Regions from separate parts of the Homo sapiens genome. Here region 1 is linked to region 2. The links are contacts of gene promoters, found by promoter capture Hi-C in blood cells and fetal thymus (Javierre and others, 2016). All regions are on one chromosome and are shown on one strand. The core of a region is centred on a gene start or on the middle of the fragment in contact, and the rest is flanking DNA. Distances in the headings are between cores, read along the strand shown. Region 1 holds the start of EGR4 (early growth response 4). Region 2 holds the start of WBP1 (WW domain binding protein 1).

Region 1 (5,986 bases), core at 3,131-5,630, 1.2 Mb after region 2:
ACTAATGATGGGCCATGAGCAGGGAAGAGAAAAGAGACGGAGAAGGACCCTGACAGTTGGCCTCTTGCCTCAGGGGCCGATGATCACACTACTTCTGCCCTACTGGCTGTGGAAGCCCGGGGGCACTGCAGAGGTCTTGGGAGTGGAGTTGGGCACTGCAGATGCTGCAACTGGATGCAGACTTCATCTCTGCTGCGGCTTCATTAGCCATGTTTTTTGTTACTCTGATGGCTGGCCCTGCCTCTGTCCCTGCTTTTAAATAAATCCTTTAGGAAGAAAAAAAAAAGAGGGAGTGGAGGGAAGGGGTAGGAGAGAAGAGAGGAGAGGAAAGGAAGGAGAAGAAAGAAGCAGAGAGGAAAGAGGAGTGAGAGATGCAGTGCCCCTGCATCTCCATGGCCCCAGGAAGTGGGACATGGAACTGTTCCTCAGCTCTCGCTGTCAGGAGTCGCCATGGAGACAGAGTGCTGGCCTCTTCATGATTAATACTCCCAGGCAGCTGTCTTCTTGGAGTCTTTTAAAATACACACACTATTATTTGAACACAATGATATTTAGAGCAGAAAGATCAAGGTAGGGTGTGGAGGAGGGAGCAGTAGCATAACCAGAACTATGACAGGGGCTGAGCCCTCCCCAGAAGAGAGAGCAGGGAGGCTGCCTCTACCCTCCCTCTGCCCCTCCCCACCTCCTTCCCTGGATTCAAAGCTTCCAGTCTCATGCACTGCAGCATCAGCATCTGAAGGGCCAACCCAGCACCTGGCACTGGGCTGTGCTCAATGAATATTTGATGAATGAATTTCTTCATTCATTAATTCATTCAGCAAATGTTTGTTCAGTGCTTGTCTAGAAAGTGATTCTCCTTTGCACCTTTTCCCATGGAAATAGAAAATTCGCTCTCACCTTCCCCAAGATCACACATACACACACACACACACACACACACACACCAACTTACACAACAGCTCCAAAGAACCTTATATGTGCTACTTCTCAGCACTAGTTGTGACCCACTGTTTTCCTATCCATGGCCATCACTCCAGGGAATTCTTGCAGGGATGGGCACCAGCCAGCTCAAGTTTGCACATCACATCCTATTTGAAAGCTACAGGGAGATCCTCCATCTAAAGCCATCCAACAGTGAATCCTTTTGTAAAATTAATTATCTTTTCCTAAATTGTCTTATAGAGTAGGCTAGCCTGGACTTGACTCTCAGCTCTACCACTGACTAGAAGTGTGGTGTCGATCACGTCATTTGACCTTTTTGAATCTGTTTCCTCATCTGTGAAATTGGTCTCCAATTCCTTACTCCATAGAACTTTTGTGGAGATTGAATGATAAAATATTTGTAAAATGCTCAATGTATGTGATTTCCCTTTTTTCCCTTGTGTACATTTGTGTTTTTATATTTGAAGTGTGATTTAAATGGAGCTCATAGATCTAAGCTCTTCTCTCTTCCTTCCCTTCCCAAAGACTTTTATTTTATCTGGGCCCAGAATCTCTTTGTAAGCTGTTAAAACGTAGGGAGAAGAAGGGACGAGCTGGGAAGAACTACAAAATGCTCAGCCCCCTTTATATTCCCTCCCAGTCTTCAGAGAGCCAAAGGCAGATGCAAATTGCCCTCCAGAGGTAGCCATCCTCTGTGCCTGTGAGTGTGTGTATGTGTGTCCATTGGAGGTAAGTAGCATAGACATGGGGGTGTGAGCCATCCCACACCCAGAGCACAAGCTGTCTCTTCCCTATCTCCTTTCCTAATCACTCCTACCCACCCCCGAGCCCTGCCCCCAGGTCTGGCCTCTAACACAAGAAACTTTGGTGACTTGGACCCTTGTCCTAACACAGACCTAGTCCAACAGCCCTTGGCAGAGAGAAGCAATGGCTTGGCAACTCACCAAGAGAGTAGGGGAATTATCTGTGACTAAGAAGGAGGAGGAATGCTGTGGCAGAGGGAAGAACAGCAGAAGGGATGGGCAACCTGGGGCTGACCAATCTGGCCCGACGGGGCGACCTGGGGAGACCTGGACACCAGCCCAGTCAAACTCCTCCCCTCCTCCTCCCTCTCAGGCAGTAGGATGCCAGAGTGGATTTGAGACATGTGTGCCCTGTGTGTCTGGTGTGGGCTCACCTGGCCTTGGCAATGCATTTGGATTAGAATCAAACCCTGGATCTGAAATAGAGTATAAGGAAAATCGTGCTTGGTGTGTCCAATCTTTACAGACATCTGCTGGGTTTCTGCATTTCCTACATGCTCATATATGTGCTACTAACACAGAACCATAGGTGTAGCCATTTAGTAAGACACACTGCAAGTGCATGACCCTGTGAGAACCTTTATATGATTTGTGGACTTCAGGAGAAGATGCATACAAGTGTGTCAGCATATGTTTTGCAGGTGATTGTGTGAAGGGACATATTCTGTGAAAACACTTAATAAGGTCACTGTGGGATGAGGAGTGGGCACCTAGTGCTGGAGATGGGGCTCAGGGTCCCAGCAGACATAAAACCAAAGTCTACCTTCTGGCCTGTAATAGGCACTTAAGAAATGAATACTGAATGAATGAACATTGAGAAACTGAATGGATGTTTGGATAATGGACATAGGGTGAAAGGACTGAGAATGTGGTGGGGTTTGGGCATTCTTGGGCTCTCTCTCTCTCTCTTGAAAAAGAGGGTACAGGGGTGGAAGAGAGGCTGGGAGCTATACTGCCCATGATGCTGAGTCCACCACCCCCAAAGGGCTTTGTTTCTATTTCAAAAAAGGAGAGAAGGAAGGAGGAGCCCTAAACCTGCCCACCTTACCCTCCAGCACACAGAGTCTCAGGAATTGATGCTCTTCATAAAGAAGAACATGCTATTCCATGTATTTATTTAATCCTTCCCCCCCATGTATTTATTTAATTTGGTTCCAGAAAGGAGTTAAGTGAGCTATAATACAAAATAAAATAAACATTTTAAAAAGAATGAGAGAATGAGACAGAGGGAAAACCACAGCAGAAGAGAGATGAGACTAGGAGAGTAGGCAAGCTTCTTTGCTGGAGTTGGCTCTGATGCTTCTGCAGCCAAGATTCACAGCCTCCTTAAGGCTAGGATTTTTTTTTTTTTTCTCAAAAGAAGCCCAATTATTTCAAGTACTGATTCCAGGGAGATATTTCCCACGGATTCCCTGTGTGTTGCTGGGATCAACATCCTTAGAGCGAAAGCCATTTGTATGAAGGCAGAAAAAATGTTCTGCAGAAGCATCTCATACCCTGTGGGTGAGGGAGGAGTGAGCAGGAATTGGCCCTACTTTTCTGGAAGACAATTTGCCAGTTGTCTATCAAAATTTTACATATACTTTGGCACACAATTACACTCGTTGGAATTTATCTCACAGACACATTCACATTTATATAGTCAAGGATGTTGACTCCAACAACATTGGTATAAGTAAAAAGTTGGAAACTGCCTACATGCTCATGGATAGGGGACAAATCGACTAACTCAAGGTCCTCCCTTACAATGGAGTACTATACAGCCTTGAAAAAGAATGACAAGATCTTTATGTCAGGACATGGCACAATCTCTAAGTTATTTCAAGTGAAAAAATAATAATAATAATAATATTGCAGAACAATGTGTATGGTTGGATATACATAAAATTCTTCTGAAAGAATACCCAAGAAACTTAAATGTGGCTACCTCAGGAGCTAGGAATGAAGGTAGGTGGAGAGGAGGGACTTTTACTTTTCAATTTAGAATATACCCTGTTGTGCTAGTTGACTTTCCTCCTACTGTTAACAAGTATTACAGTCCTTTTTAATTTAAATTATTTTTCCTAGCACAAATTTAAAAAAAAAAAACTTAAAATGGAAAAACACACAGGCGTGAGCAAAAGAAATGAATGGCAATAATCTCTGTGGTTTACTGAGTGCGCCTGGACATTTATGTGCTCTCAGTTTCTCTCCACAGGAAATGCACAGGTGAGAAACTGACGTTAAGGGGGACTGAGTGTCAAGCTAGTTAGTGGCAGAGGGCAGATTCAAACCCAACACGGTCCTCCCCTGCTGCCCCTCGGCCTCTGCCTCCAGGTGGGAAGCGCATCTACCGGACGGTCGGCCCGGTGAGGCGCAGCGCCCCAGACTGGCGCATCCGCGGCCCCAGCGCTCCACGCCTGGGGAGCGCGCGCGCACGCAGCGGCGCGAGCCTGGCGGCGGCGGCGACAACAACAACGTCACAGCTCGAGCTTTCCTTTTCGGGAGTCCCCGGCACACATCCTGTGTCCATGTTTGGGCATTTACGTCACGGCGGCAGGGCCGGGGCCTCCCAAAATGGCAGTGGCCCGGGGAGTCGGAAGCCCGGAGCCAGCGCCGCCGCAGCTATATAAGTGGGGGGGCTGTGGGCTGGGGGAGCCCGGCAGCGCTTTGGAGAGGCGAGGAGCCGCCGCCCGAGGCCGGTGCGGGCGAGCGAGGGCGCCGCGGCTCCCCGACTCCTTTCCCAGAGGTGAGTGCCCGAAGCCAGGAGCCCGGGCGCCTAGGTCTGTGCGCTGCGGGGAACCCCTACCGCCAGCCTCCCCGCCACCCGCGCGCCCCCAAGCCCAGCGGGCGAGGCCCCGGGCGCCCCACAGCCGGCGCCGCGCCATGCTCCACCTTAGCGAGTTTTCCGAACCCGACGCGCTCCTCGTCAAGTCCACTGAAGGCTGTTGCGCCGAACCCAGCGCTGAATTGCCCCGGCTGCCTGCCAGGGACGCTCCCGCGGCCACCGGCTACCCTGGAGGTAAGGAGGGCGAGCAGGGGTGCTCAGACGACGACGGCGCAGCGCGGGGGCGCACCATACCTGAGAACCAGGAGGGACTGGGACATTGGAGCTATGAGAATAGGGGCGATGGGAAGCTTAGGAGTCCTGGGGTGCGCACCCCCATTCCCACCCACACTGGGCCGCCAGCGCCTCCGCAGGAACCTGTGCGGTTATCGGAGCGCCCTTTTGCCTGTGCACGTGTGTTTTGCGTGTGCATGTTTCTATGTGCTCCTTGGGACGTATGCGGGCCCCTGCTGAATCAGAATGTGCAAAAGGCACTTTGTGTATATCCGTGGGCACCAAGAGTTTTGTAGGTAGGGGCTGTGGACTCAGGTGCACCCTTTGATGTGCCCAGAGCTGATTCCTGCTCCCTCCTCAGCAGGCGACTTCTTGAGCTGGGCTTTGAACAGCTGCGGCGCAAGTGGGGACTTAGCCGACTCCTGCTTCCTGGAGGGGCCTGCGCCCACACCCCCTCCCGGCCTCAGCTACAGCGGTAGCTTCTTCATTCAGGCAGTGCCCGAACACCCGCACGACCCGGAGGCACTCTTCAACCTCATGTCGGGCATCTTAGGCCTGGCACCCTTCCCCGGTCCAGAGGCAGCAGCGTCCAGATCCCCGCTGGATGCCCCTTTTCCTGCGGGGTCCGATGCCTTGCTGCCGGGTCCGCCGGACCTTTACTCCCCGGATCTGGGCGCTGCCCCTTTCCCAGAGGCGTTCTGGGAGGCCTCGCCTTGCGCGGGTGCCCCCTCGCAGTGCCTGTATGAGCCTCAGCTCTCCCCGCCCGACGTCAAGCCCGGCCTCCGGGCGCCTCCCGCCTCGCCAGCGCTGGACGCTGTCTCTGCCTTCAAGGGTCCCTACGCGCCCTGGGAGCTGCTTTCTGTGGGGGCCCCAGGGAACTGTGGGTCACAGGGAGACTACCAGGCCGCCCCGGAGGCTCGTTTTCCCGTAATAGGGACCAAGATTGAGGACTTGCTGTCCATCAGCTGCCCTGCGGAACTGCCGGCCGTCCCAGCCAACAGACTCTATCCCAGCGGGGCCTATGACGCTTTCCCGCTGGCCCCGGGTGACTTAGGGGAGGGGGCTGAGGGCCTCCCTGGGCTCCTGACCCCTCCTAGTGGGGAGGGAGGGAGTAGCGGCGACGGCGGAGAGTTTCTGGCCAGTACGCAGCCTCAGCTTTCCCCGCTGGGCCTTCGCAGCGCCGCCGCGGCGGACTTCCCTA
Region 2 (5,840 bases), core at 2,397-4,896:
TACCAACCTTACTGAACCCCAAGACCCTACCCTCTGGGCTGGATGACTACCCCCGGGCTTCACACCCTTCAGTAACCGAGCGGCACCTGGACCTGCGATGTTGGGTGGCACTGGGTGCCCGTGTGCTGACGCGGCTGGCAGAGCATCTGGGTGAGGCTGAGGTAGCTGCTGAGCTGGGCCCACTGGCTGCCTCACTGGAGGCAGCAGAGAGCCTGGATGAGCTGCACTGGGCCCCAGAGCTAGGAGTCTTTGCAGACTTTGGGAACCACACAAAAGCAGTACAGCTGAAGCCCAGGCCCCCTCAGGGGCTCGTTCGGGTGGTGGGTCGGCCCCAACCTCAACTGCAGTATGTAGATGCTCTTGGCTATGTCAGTCTTTTTCCCTTGCTGCTGCGACTGCTGGACCCCACCTCATCCCGCCTTGGGCCCCTGCTGGACATTCTAGCCGACAGCCGCCATCTCTGGAGCCCCTTTGGTTTACGCTCCCTTGCAGCCTCCAGCTCCTTTTATGGCCAGCGCAATTCAGAGCATGATCCCCCCTACTGGCGGGGTGCTGTGTGGCTCAATGTCAACTACCTGGCTTTGGGAGCACTCCACCACTATGGGCATCTGGAGGGTCCTCACCAGGCTCGGGCTGCCAAACTCCACGGTGAGCTCCGTGCCAACGTGGTAGGCAATGTATGGCGCCAGTACCAGGCTACAGGCTTTCTTTGGGAGCAGTACAGTGACCGCGATGGGCGAGGCATGGGCTGCCGCCCTTTCCACGGCTGGACCAGCCTTGTCTTACTGGCCATGGCTGAAGACTACTGAAGGGAGGGAGAGGAGGGGAGCCAAGACACTCATGCCACTCTGGCTCTGAAGGGACAAAGGCTTCTGGCTTTTGCCCCCAGCCCCTTGGATACCAGTAATTCAAACCTTCCTCATTTCATCTCAGGTGTCTCCTTGCTGTCATCCCACATAGCCCTGGGGTGAATGTGAATCCAGAGTCTATTTTTCTAAATAAATTGGAAAAAACATTTTGAACTCTATTGCTTTTGCCAGATTTGCCTCACCAAGAGGCCTTAGGTCAGTCCAGGCCTCAGCACTGTCTGCTGTCCTCAGGGAAGGTGGGGTCAAGTGGCCATAACCTGTCCCCTTCAAACCCAGTCAGGTCAAGTGCAATGCAGTGAGTTGAGCTTTAGTCCACCCAAATCCACAAGTAGCTGGTTCACATCTCTTTAATGAGATCAAAGGCTCCTGTGTATGTCCTGCGGGGGTAAAGCTAGCACAGTCCCCCAATACTGCCCCTCTCCAGCCCTTTCAGGCAGATTCTAGGTAGGCAGGGAGGGGCCAAAGGAACGCAAGGAGTTGGGACTAGGGCTGTTTCTGGTGGGCAAGTAACCCATCCACCCTCTCAAAACTACTTATGGGATGTCCCCTTCACTGGAAGACAGCCCCATGGGAAAGATCTGCGGTACAGACTCTGGGGGTAGTGCACACGGGGAGTAGTCCTCCAGATCTGGCAGGGTGGCACTAACCCTCACCTCCTTGACTGGCTCACCCTCACCGGAGGCAGGACAAGGGCAGAGCTCAATACCGGAGTCGCCAGTTAAACGGCGATAGCGGCAGGAGGGGGGTGTGGAGGCAGGGGTCACCCCTGCCCCGGGCTCACCCTCCTGATGAGGGGGGGCACTCTGGTGGGAGGAAACACCTTCCACATTTGTTCCTTCAAAGTGGGCAGGGCAGCTGGATGAGGAGGAACAGCAGGTTTGTTCACTGGAAGCAGTCAAGGGGCGGCCTGGGGCCACAGTATAAGGGGGGGGTGGTGTGCCTGGGCGGTGAACCACATCCTCGTAGGCTGGGGGCTTGAAGGTGCTGAGGAAGCCTGCAGGGGAGAAAATTGGCATGATTGGTTGAAGACAACCAGGTATAGGGTGCTAGTTTTTATATTAGGGAAAAATACTTTGAAATGTGTGGAAAAGGGAATGTGAGACGATTTGGGGTTCTGGTTTGGGGAGGGCCACTGGTAGCTGACCCAGGGCATCAAGTCACTCACGAAGGTCAAGCAGTGAACCGGTAGGGAAAGGACCAGCCCCATGGCATGCCCCATGATAGGCCAACAAGTTGATTTCACGCTGCCGCTGCTGTTGTTGCAGCCTGAGTTTAGCTCGTCGGTGGCGGAAGGCGCAACAGCAGCTAAAGAGGATGAGGACAGTCCAGAGCAGCCAGAACCCTGCAAGAGGCAAGGAGGGAGCAACTCAGGCATCTTTCATGCAGAGAAGGGGCCCTGAAGGCCGAAATTCTGAGGTCCAAGGGAGGGTGGACACAGGGACCTGGAAATAGCCCTCTTGGAGACTTACACCAGAGCTCATAGTAGTAGGTGCAGCAGCCAGTCTCCCCGCAGCAGTGACCACTCTCACAGAGGTAGGGCTGGTTGTTCACTCCTGGGCACAGCTCTCGAAGCTGCGGGCAAGGAGGCACTTAGAACTAAGGGGGATTCCAGCCCAGGGCACTGTCCACCCCCACCTCCTGCATGCACATACACAATCCCACCCTGTGAACCAAGTTCAGCTTGGAGAGATGGGGGAAGTGGAGGATGCTGAGAGGAGTGTTGAAATATCTGAAGGGCTGTCAACGTGGAAGAGGATTTGGAATAGCAAGAATCAGTCTAGAGAACAAGACAAAAGTGTGGACATACAAAGAGGGAGATTTCAGCTCTGCATATATGAGACTTCCTTCACACTCAAGCCTCACTCTCCCCAACCCCCCTACCCCCATCCCCTCGGTGCTTTCTGTTAAGGGAGTGTTTTGGCAGAAGCCAGAAGACAGTCTGAGATAATCTCAGTCTCAGACAACGGGTAGCGGTAGGTCATTTCCAAAGCAAGTTGCTTTCATTATCCTGCGCGGTTCACTACCCCCCACCCGCAACTGGATCTTTCCACCCCTGGGCCTCAGGCTCCCTAGGATAGAGGAGGGGCAGTGTGAGACCCAGAGCAGTGCTCCCAACCAGATGGGATTGCTGTGGATGATAAAGGATGGCATCCAGGGCGCGAGTCTGGGTTCCAGCTCTTCTCCAAATTGCTCCCTCAAGAGAAGACGCTGCCGGACTCTGTTGTGACAATAGGCACATAGAAAAAGATCACAAATAACTGTTGCAAGACAGAGGGAGCCTCCCTGGGACCTCACTATGCCTCTGGTCACTGGAGAGCCACCGCAAGCTTCCACTGCAGCCATGGGATGGGTTCTATGAGGCTACAGGCAAAGTCAGCTGCATCTACGTTACAAAGTTTAGACAAAGAGTGGAAGAGACATGTTTAGGAACTTCACAGTACCTTTGGCTCCGTGAGTTCCTCCCCCACCCCCAAAAGGAAGGGACAAGGAAAGGGGAAAGAGACAAATGGCTGTCGTGATAGGTTTTGGAGCTATTGGGATACCTGCTGTTGCGGCGCCCGAAGTGCCCCCCAGGCCTCCTCGCTGCCGTTCCCGCTGCTGGCCCGAGCCATACCTCCACCTACAGCCCCCTGAGGACCACAGCCTCCTCTACCGCCAGCCGCCCCGCCCCTGCCACCTCTGCTGCCACCGCCATGGTCCCTGCCCGGCCCATCTTCGCTGAGGCCACCATCACTCCGCGGCCGGAGCTTCCATCCGGGCAGAACTCCACCAACTAGGACTCAGATTGCTCTGCCCTACCAATCATCATCGTCCCTTGACGGACGGGCCAATAGGAACAGATCAGAGGTTTCTCCCTGTGACCAATCCACAGCAGCGCCTCCGCCGCTCACCCAGACAACAAGAGCTTGTACAGACAAAGAGTAGGTGAAGGTTCGACCCACGGCCCTGACTGACAGCGGCAATAGCCAATACAGACAACAGAACAGGCTCTGGCATATCAACCAACGAACAGCCGCCCCGAAGAGCAAGGTTGCCGCTGATTGGCTTGCGGTATGTTTTCGGAATGACGCCAAAGGCCGAAGCACGCCAGGTAATCCCGGCTGGAAGAGGCGGAGTCCCAAAAGTCGGTCCGCTGGTTTGCAGCCTGGTTTTTTGCGGTGGTTTCCAAGCCCCAGGCATCGACGCAAGCTCCGACAGGGGCAAAATACGTGTATACCGGAGACTGGTCTGCCCACAACATCCCACTCCCCCAGTTCTGTACAAGCCGAAGCACCGGATGTAATTTAATAGGGTGGGGAAGATACTCAAGAGCGGGCATGGGACGGGGCGCAGAGTCCGGGTTAAGGGCCTTACGTAGCCAAAAGGGGGGATCCAGGACCCTCGGGCCCCCCCAGCCGCATCTGCAGGTTGATGCGGTAGCACTGAAGACTACAGAGTGCCTGGCCTGTGCGGGAGCAAGCGTAGCGGCGCGGATGGGGACAGCCGGGGACAGAGCAGCGCGGCGGCGGGCCTGAGGGGGATGGCCGCTGAGACACTGCCGTGGGGGCGGGGACGCCAGGTGGGAAGGAAAGGGTGGAACCCTGTGCTCCGCTGCAGTAGCGCACCATGGGGGCCGGAGCCGCAGCCCGCCCTCCCCGCCGCTCGCCCCGTGCGCCCCCCCGGCCTCCCCGCCCACTGGTCGCCGCAGTCTTGGTGAGGCGCTCGATAGTCTGGTTCTTGTGCTCTTCTGCCCGCCGCGCCGCCTGGAGCCGCCGCTTCCGCGCCCGCTCCTCGCGCTTCAGCAGCATCTCCTCTGTGAGGGCGGGAGGTGGGCAGCCCTCAGCTACAGGCAGCGGCAGCATAGGGGAAGGTTGACTCCGCGCCTTCTGGAGCAGAGCTCGCTAGGGAGAGACAGAGACGGGGTGCTGTCTGAAAATGGAGGAAGATGGAGAGGCGAGGTCGGCCAGATCGGGGGAGGGGAAAGAAGGGACATGGAAGGCAGGGTCTTGAGCAGTGCAGGCCTTCGGAGGCGGGATATTAATTAATGAGCACCCTCTCCAGGACACCTTCCATAGGTTCCTCTTCATAAATACTGCCTCCTCCCAGATCTCCTGACATTTAGCTTTAGGTCCTTATCTCTCAAGGGGAGAAGCATCAGTAATGTTACCTGCCTGACCTGTGCACCAAAACTGTACCAGCTTTCCCAGAGGTCTGTTGTTATTTTTAATCTTATCTCAATAGAGAGTATCAGGTGGATAACTGCTCAAGCCAAAATCCCAGGCTTAGCCTTGATATATTTTCTCTCCATTCCCCTCCCCACAAGTATCTACTTCCAAAATATAGCCATAATTCATCTGATTTTCTCCATCTCCACCACTTTCGTCTTGGTTAAAGCAACCACTGCCTCTCAGCTGATTACTTCAACAGCTTCCTAGTTGTTCTCCATACTTCTATCTCTTGTCTCCACGAAGATTCATTCTCTACAAAGATGCCAAAGTAATCTATTGAAATGTAAACCAAGTATGTCACTTCTCTGCGTACAGCCCTTCAGTGGCTTGTCCACTTTTTCTTCTCCTTTGCTAGACATGTTCCAGTCTCAAGGTCTGTGCGCCTGCTGGTCTCTGCTCAAAAGCTCTTCTGGTATTGCAAATGTTATCTCTTCAAAGAAGCCTTCTCTAACTACCCTAATGTCTCTCTTCCATCATTTCTATCTGTTTGTTTACGCCACTTTCTATTTCATCACCCTTTTCTTTTTGTCATAAACCATATAGCTTTTTGAAATTATTTACTTATTTACTTCCCAGCCCCCCAACACACACACTAGAATACTAGCTCCAGGAGAACAGAAACTTTGTCTTTTCTCTACTATCGATATCCCCAATGCCACGCAAAGTGCGTGGGTCGTGGAGAGTTCTCAATACTGTATACATTTGGTGAGTGAATAAACAATGAACCAACATACCTGTCGAGCAGTAAGCAGCCGCTCATTGA

Evidence for each region. The method cuts DNA at HindIII sites, captures the fragments that hold promoters and counts their contacts. A CHiCAGO score of 5 or more calls a contact.
Region 1: the fragment with the promoter of EGR4 here is called in contact with the fragment with the promoter of WBP1 in region 2 in 1 of 17 cell types (fetal thymus); the score reaches 6.5 in fetal thymus.

The regions. Positions count from the first base shown.
Region 1 is chr2:73,291,942-73,297,927 of GRCh38, reverse strand. It overlaps EGR4 (early growth response 4), which reads left to right and starts at 4,380. Exons shown (of 2, transcript NM_001965.4): 1 at 4,380-4,746; 2 at 5,147-5,986. The coding sequence starts at 4,611. RefSeq lists a silencer at 4,018-4,097. The HindIII fragment of the contact is 1,844 bases long and covers 3,021-4,864 here.
Region 2 is chr2:74,456,244-74,462,083 of GRCh38, reverse strand. It overlaps WBP1 (WW domain binding protein 1), which reads right to left and starts at 3,646. Exons shown (of 4, transcript NM_012477.4): 1 at 3,413-3,646; 2 at 2,339-2,441; 3 at 2,035-2,211; 4 at 1,203-1,863. The coding sequence starts at 3,481. The coding sequence ends at 1,403. INO80B (INO80 complex subunit B) reads right to left here. Exons shown (of 5, transcript NM_031288.4): 4 at 5,812-5,840; 5 at 4,140-4,750. The coding sequence ends at 4,220. It overlaps INO80B-WBP1 (INO80B-WBP1 readthrough (NMD candidate)), which reads right to left. Exons shown (of 8, transcript NR_037849.1): 4 at 5,812-5,840; 5 at 4,224-4,750; 6 at 2,339-2,441; 7 at 2,035-2,211; 8 at 1,193-1,863. It overlaps MOGS (mannosyl-oligosaccharide glucosidase), which reads left to right. Exons shown (of 4, transcript NM_006302.3): 4 at 1-1,027. The coding sequence ends at 809. RefSeq lists enhancers at 3,214-3,323, 3,261-3,768, 3,994-4,143, 3,769-4,275, 4,774-4,843 and a silencer at 4,394-4,633. The HindIII fragment of the contact is 3,318 bases long and covers 3,199-5,840 here.